2 separate regions of the Homo sapiens genome follow, and region 1 is linked to region 2. The links are contacts of gene promoters, found by promoter capture Hi-C in blood cells and fetal thymus (Javierre and others, 2016). All regions are on one chromosome and are shown on one strand. Each heading gives the region's core, a stretch centred on a gene start or on the middle of the fragment in contact. The rest is flanking DNA. Distances are from core to core; before and after follow the strand shown.

What was found. Contacts are between HindIII fragments. The CHiCAGO score rates a contact against its expected background, and 5 or more counts as called.
Region 1: a contact is called between a fragment that was not itself captured here and the fragment with the promoter of KIN in region 2, in 1 of 17 cell types (endothelial precursors). The highest score is 6.2, in endothelial precursors.

Annotation. Positions count from the first base shown.
Region 1 is chr10:9,195,766-9,199,366 of GRCh38, forward strand. It overlaps LOC101928272 (a long non-coding RNA gene), which reads right to left. Exons shown (of 5, transcript NR_120635.1): 5 at 1,601-3,281. Among named protein-coding and RNA genes, the nearest start is that of LINC00709, 78 kb to the right of the region's middle. The HindIII fragment of the contact is 1,213 bases long and covers 736-1,948 here.
Region 2 is chr10:7,786,264-7,789,392 of GRCh38, forward strand. It overlaps KIN (Kin17 DNA and RNA binding protein), which reads right to left and starts at 1,730. Exons shown (of 13, transcript NM_012311.4): 1 at 1,557-1,730. The coding sequence starts at 1,670. ATP5F1C (ATP synthase F1 subunit gamma) reads left to right here and starts at 1,914. Exons shown (of 10, transcript NM_001001973.3): 1 at 1,914-2,000. The coding sequence starts at 1,945. RefSeq lists enhancers at 1,683-2,002, 2,455-2,998. The HindIII fragment of the contact is 3,793 bases long and covers 1-2,896 here.

The sequences.
Region 1 (3,601 bases), core at 92-2,591, 1.4 Mb after region 2:
TGCCAATTACACGTTTATTATTATCTTCCCTCTGCTGTGCTTTATACTCATTACCATAGTATCTATTAAGTTTGGACATTTCCTGACTTTTCTTTTTTAAAGCTACTCGTCTTCCACAATGTAAATTGGGCCTCCCACCAACCCCCATTGCCAGAAAGCTGAACAAAGTGAATCCCTTATTTCTATATGAGTCAGGTGTACATCTTTATGTTAGAACAGTGATCTGTAAAAGCTTAAACTAATTTATCTACTTCTGCTAATTATTTTGGGATAACAAAAACGTGCTAGCACATAAACGATACTTTCATCTTGGTTCGTTCTGCTCTTCCTTATAGAAATTATTAAAACTTAACTCTAAGGCTTAGTACAAATTAAAGTTAATTTTTCCATGCAAAGTTTTAATATGACCTTATTCCTGAAATTTTTGACCTGAACTAATAAAATTTTTTAAATAATTATACTCAGAGTTTTTATATGCTACTTTTTATTTCTTCAACATTACCATTATGAATTTTGCCTTAGAATACACATTCCTTCAGGAATTTAGATGCACAGGGATGCATGTGGATAATGCCATGAGCACCCTCTGGGCAGCAGTTCATAGAGCGGAGGAAAACAGATCAATCATTATTGAGTCTACAGAGCTTCCACATTAGTACAGCCAATTCATTAGATATGATCCCAACCATTAAATTTATTAGATATGATCCCAACCATTAAAAAGACAAATTTATAAGCTTCTTATATTGAGAATCAAGAAAAAAAAACAAAAAGAAAGCATTCCACTGCACAGTTACACAGTGCATGATTCAATTTCAAAATTCTAAAATGAGTGATCTATATGAAGAGGGTATTTGATTGTGTTGTTACTTACTGTTCATTTATTAGTTTTCTGGCTTCGTGGAGAATTATCTGCCTTCTCTGAGTATTGATTTCATTGTGCGCATGGTGAAGATATCGCCTGTTCTACAAGGGAGTAAGATTGAGTGAGATCCTCTAGGAGGAGGCTCCTAAAATATTTTACCCCTGCTAAGCCATGTGATTCATGTTGAAAGATTTTAAGGAGAAGCTCCTGCTTGATTGATAGGTATAACAATTTCTCTTTCTTTGCTATTAAACTTCTACATTACACAAATTTACACATGAGAGTGTTTAATTCCTAGGCTGGAATTTTGCATTTTCTGTAATTTTTGTGTTAACCAGAGGATTTTGAGACCTGTGGCAGAGGCATTCTCTGCCTCAGGAGAAAGGTGGACATAGACTCAAATAAAATAAGTCAATTGAATCTCTAAATAAGTTTTAAAATATGTACTAGGGATACTAACCTGAAATCCAAGATGCTTTCAATTTGCGAACACCACATATTTGACAGAAAAAAAATTGTGAACTTCTAAATTGTTTGCTTGAAGATAGCCTTGGTTTGTATGGGCTGCTGTCACAAAATATCAAAAAATATCACCGTCTGGGTGACTTGAACTACTAATATTTATTTCTCACAGTTCTGGAGGCTGGGAAATTCAAGAACAAGGTGCTGGCTGATTCAGTTCTTGGTGGGAGCTTGCTTCCTGGCTTGTAGACTTCATCTTTTTTTTTTTTTTTTATGTGTCTCTCATGGCAGAGTAAAATTTCTCTTCAGTCTGTTCTAATAAGGGCATTAATCCCATCATGAGGATTCTACCTTCATGACCTAATTACCTCCCAAATGCCTTGCCTTCTAATGCCAGCACATTAGTGTTTCAATAAATGAATTTGAGGGGAATATAATTCAGTTCACACTGAATACCAAGAGTTAAACCTGGTAGGTTTGGGGCATAGCTTATTACATAAATCAATAATTAGGAAATGGTAGTAACAATTAATAGTAACCTTTTTATGTGAAATGTTATTGTCATTTTATAGCTAAAACTTGCATAGTACTGTATATACTATTTGCTAAGTACTTTATTAAAGCTTTACATATATTAACTTATTTAATCTCACTACAATCTATGAAGTGAGGGCCACTGTCTCCCCATATTACAGCAAGAAGAGTTCAGTAAATTTGCCTGAGATCATAGAGCCTTTTAGAAAAAGATTGAAAAGCCAGTGATCTGATACTACAGTCTTAATTACTACATTTGACTGTTACAACAGTGTTTCTGGCTCTAAAATGACACAGAATTACACTAAGAGTGAAGAAACAAGGACTAAAGGCTTAAACAACTCCCTGAAAAGGGCTCTAGACTTCCAGATCAAATTCCATGGTGGCACGGAGCCTGTGGCACATGAGGAGCATTATGGACACATTGGAGGGCTGAGGAGAGACCCCAGGTTTTCCCCCTCCAGTGCCTCAAGAAATTGCCCTGACCTATTCCACCGGTGTATATCACCTGTGTGGTTGACTTGGGCTACAAGAGTAGCCTAAGGGATGAGGTATAACGGGGAGAACATGGCATGCAGAAAATTGATTAGCAAAGCAGGGAATGAGCTATGCTTCTACTGAAGCCATTATGGAACCCTCTCCAAGACTTTGCGTTTTAGGGCATTGACATGGTGTGTTGTCAGTGCACGTTCCTATTACTGTTTTATTTTCCATATCTCAGCAATAGGAAAAATGAGCACAGTGCTCAAGAGGACTGTGTAACAGGTATCAAAATGAAACCCTCTAGGTGGCAAAATTCACACCATTCATTATTCCTAATCCTTCTGCTATGCTTAGAAGGGAGAAGGGGACCTAGACTGTGTTCTCGTGCATGTTGGATTACATTACCTCAAACCTGGATGCAAACTGCTACTTATAAAATGTTAGTGCTTGCTTGCCAATGTCCGATATTTCAAAGCTTGTAAATGTGCTGAATGCAGAATACAGCTAACTAATTCAAATCAGAACATTTTCTCAGAAAAGTTTCACAGTTTCTTGGGATTCTGCATTGTGTTTGAGCATACACTGAAAAGTGGGGACTAAGAAAAAATTGTCTTGTGGAAATCATAGATGGGTTATTTCTATGGATGTGTGAAATGCCAAGGAGTCATGCCGTTGGAACCTCTCGCTTCCTCCTCCAGCTGCATCAGCAGCCCGGCTTCTGTTTCATCCAGGAGGAATCTGTAGTATGTAAACGCAGAGCCATGAGAGCCATCAGAAAGGCTTGTCTATTTCCTTAGCTGTAGGTGCATTTTATTTAAAGTTTTCTAGCTCCTTCTTCTCACCTCTGTCCCATTTTAACTCCATTCATTTTAATAATACTTCTTGTTTCTTCTACTTCTTCCCCTGTCCAATAAAGTTTGGAACTTGTTTGTAGCACCTGAAAGATAAAATACAGTTTTATCAAGAACAAAATAGTTTCTCTGTTAATGAATATGCTATGGCTATATACATATTTGTGTGTGCATGTAAATATATCTTATTACTAGCACACCAAGGAAGTTGTTTAAAAATTAACTGTTAATGTAGTCTTCTCAATGTGAATATAATTAGAAGTTGTAATTTCAACTAAGTTTGTGTCTGTCTATCCACACAGAGAAGAAAACAGACGCAAAGCAATAATGCTAATACTTCAGGCAATATACTTTTACTTAACATGCCCATCAGAAAAATTCCTTACTAAAAATAATAAAAGAGATC
Region 2 (3,129 bases), core at 480-2,979:
GAACTTCTATTAATTGTGTTATGTTGATGACATATACTATGGTTATATAGAAAAGTATCCTGAAATTTTAGAGATGCCTATTTAAGTATTTAAAGGTGAAATATCCTGATATTGGTATTTACCTTAAAATATTTTTTAAAAAGTAAATACGGCAAAATTACTTAAAGTGTTAAGTCTGGGTGTTACAGACTGCATGTCTGCGTCCCCTCAAAGTTCATATATTGAACCCTAACCCCCAAGGGAATGGAATTAAAAGGTGGGCCTTTGGAGATGACTGGATTTAGATGAGGTCACAAGGGTAGAGCCTGCATGATGAACAGGGTGGGACCGTATCTCAAAAAAAAAAAGAGGAAGAGAAGTTTCTATTAGAGCTTGCTCTATCTGCTTTGTGAGGATAGAGGCAGTTTCGCAAACCAAGAAGAGGACCCTCACTAGAATCTGACCATGCCAGCACCTTGATCTTGAACTTCCCAGCCTCCAGAACTGTGAGAAATAAATTTCTGTCATTTAAACCACCCAGTCTACTGCACTTTATATGGCAGTCCAAGCAGACTAAGACATTAGATAATGCATATACAGGTATTCCTTAATAGAACTAAAGAGAGTAACTGTATCAATATTAGTATGAGTCCTACCTAAAATACCTCTTCCTTCACTTGCAGAAACACTGGATTAGATTATTCCAATTGCCTCAGTGTTCTTCCACCCTTACCCAATCCAGTCCAATCTCCGGAGAAAAATATGATCACATCACTAGCCTGCACAGCATTCAATCAACCACCTCTTTAATGGGGAAAAGTGTAAATTCCATAGTGTAGCCATATAAGGCTTTTCGAGATCTGCCCAGACTCCTTGAGCCACTCTATATATACTTCACTCATTTAAAACTCAGCGACAATCCTACAAGTAGGTGAAATTATTATTCCCTCTTTACAGATAAGTAAAGGGGAATATAAGTAAATAACTTGCCCAAGACCACACGGTTGGTAAGTGGCCCTGCTTGACTTTAAATTTTGACAGTCTGATATATCCATAAACCAGATAAATCCATAATTTTAACCACAATATTATTCTGTGCCCGGTACAGTGTAGGTGCTCAATAAATGCTTGCTAGATGAGTAGTGTGGAAGAGCTTAGCTCTCCTTTTTCACCTGATCCCAAAAGAGGAGTGAATCCTAACCACCCTGTTTCTCTTAAGAGTCAAGTCAAGTAAGAGCTGATGACTGTTACTGGCATTGCCCGGGCGTCTAGTATTGCAGTATCCCCGCCCCTGTGAGGGGTGCAAAACCTTTTCTGATTTCATTTCTTTGGTGGTGGGGATCGGACTGGGGAGGAATGAGGGGTCGCAGAACACAGGCTGCCCGCTGGGCCCGGGGGCTGCGGGGAGGGACGGCTCTCGTGCGCTGAGTAGTTGACTCGCCCACTGCAGACCTCAGAAGCCTCACGACCCGGACCCCGGGAGCCCCAGCCCCGCGCCCTCAGCCCCGCGTCCAGGACCTGATCCTGGATTGCCAGGGGCCCTCCTGGGAAGACGGGGCCACTCCGGGCCCACTCACCTCGTCCCGGCACTGCTTCTGGCACATCTGGCAATACCAGCGTAGCTTCTGCAGCCCCTTGGACTTGATCCTGTTGGCGATAGCCTTGGGAGTAAGAAAATCCGACTTCCCCATGGCGACCACGGCAGCGATCACTTTCTGGACCCCAGTACTCAGCCAGCCGGAAACGGAACCGGGCTGGCGGCGGTGGGCGGGACAAATCCCAGCTGAGAGGCGGAAGGAGGTGGGGCCTGGGAAGACTGGGTTGCAACGGTCGCGAGACTCCCCTCGCCGTAGCGCGAAGAAACGAGACTGAAGAAGAGAGCAAGGTGGGAGGGGCGCGCTGGGGAGCTTCGGCGCATGCGCGCTGAGGCCTGCCTGACCGACCTTCAGCAGGGCTGTGGCTACCATGTTCTCTCGCGCGGGTGTCGCTGGGCTGTCGGCCTGGACCTTGCAGCCGCAATGGTATGGCAGCTTGCGGGAAGATCGGCAGGACCGCAAGGGATGGAAGAGCTTGGGCACGGGGCAGGGAGGAGGAGATGGGCGCGGGGGCAGATGTGGGGTCGCAGGGCCTAGCTGGGCCCCTGGCCCGTCGGAGGCGCCGGGTAGCGGGGGCTGCAGGAAGCGGCTCTGAGGTCGGGCAAGGTGTGCGCAGGGCCGGGCTCCGGCGGAGCAAGGTCCCGCCCGGTTCCCTGAGGTCGGAGGGCCACCTGGGACCTCGGGACTGCGGCCTGAGTCCAAATTGACGTCTGGGCGGTCTTGAGTTCCCTCAGCTAATCAGCACTTCCTGAGCTTCCACTTCCACTGCAAGCCAGGCCCCCAGTCTCAGGGCCTGCAAGGTGACGGGAGCCTGAGCAATAGCCCAGGGGAAGGTTAAGTCGTGCTTTTTGTCCTTGACGCCCTTTGAAACCCTGTAGTGCTGGACAGAGTGACCCTTTAAGATTCGATCGAGTCAGAGAGCGCGGCCGTCGAGCACCTCCCGTGTTGCAGACGCTTTGCTGGGTGCTGCAACAGCAAAGGCGAACATCCTAGATGCCTCTGAGGGTGGTTTTGGTGCAGAAGGGACCGTACAGATCTGTCTGAGGGCGGGGAAGGGAAGGACACCTAGCACTACCTTGAAACCACTTGCTGAAACCGTAACCCTGCAAGGTCATGAAATTGCCCCCAGGTCCTGGGGGAGGAGTTCGGTGGGCTTTTAAGTGGCATTTGTTAACTGACATGCAACTAAAGGGTGCCACGAGCCTCGAGAATTTTAAACATTAGTTCCGGGTAGGGGGACCTGGGCTGGGGGAAGTGCATATTAGAAGGCCCGGGAATGGGCAGGTAAAAGTTGGTTTGTGGGTGGTGCTGTTCAGTTTTGAAGCTTGACGGAATCTGGAAGAATTCCAGACACGCTGCTAAGGGGATTCTAGGCTGTGTCGTAGCAATTCCCTGCTCTTAACAGTGTGGAGGATTTCTAAGGCGCTACAGTGCTAAACTAGATTTTCGTATCCTAATTTATATGAAGGGACCATAAAGCATTAGTTGAAATAAATAGGTTTTTCATTAAGCAAATAACTGATAGTAATATACGAGATTTTCAGAATGATATCTG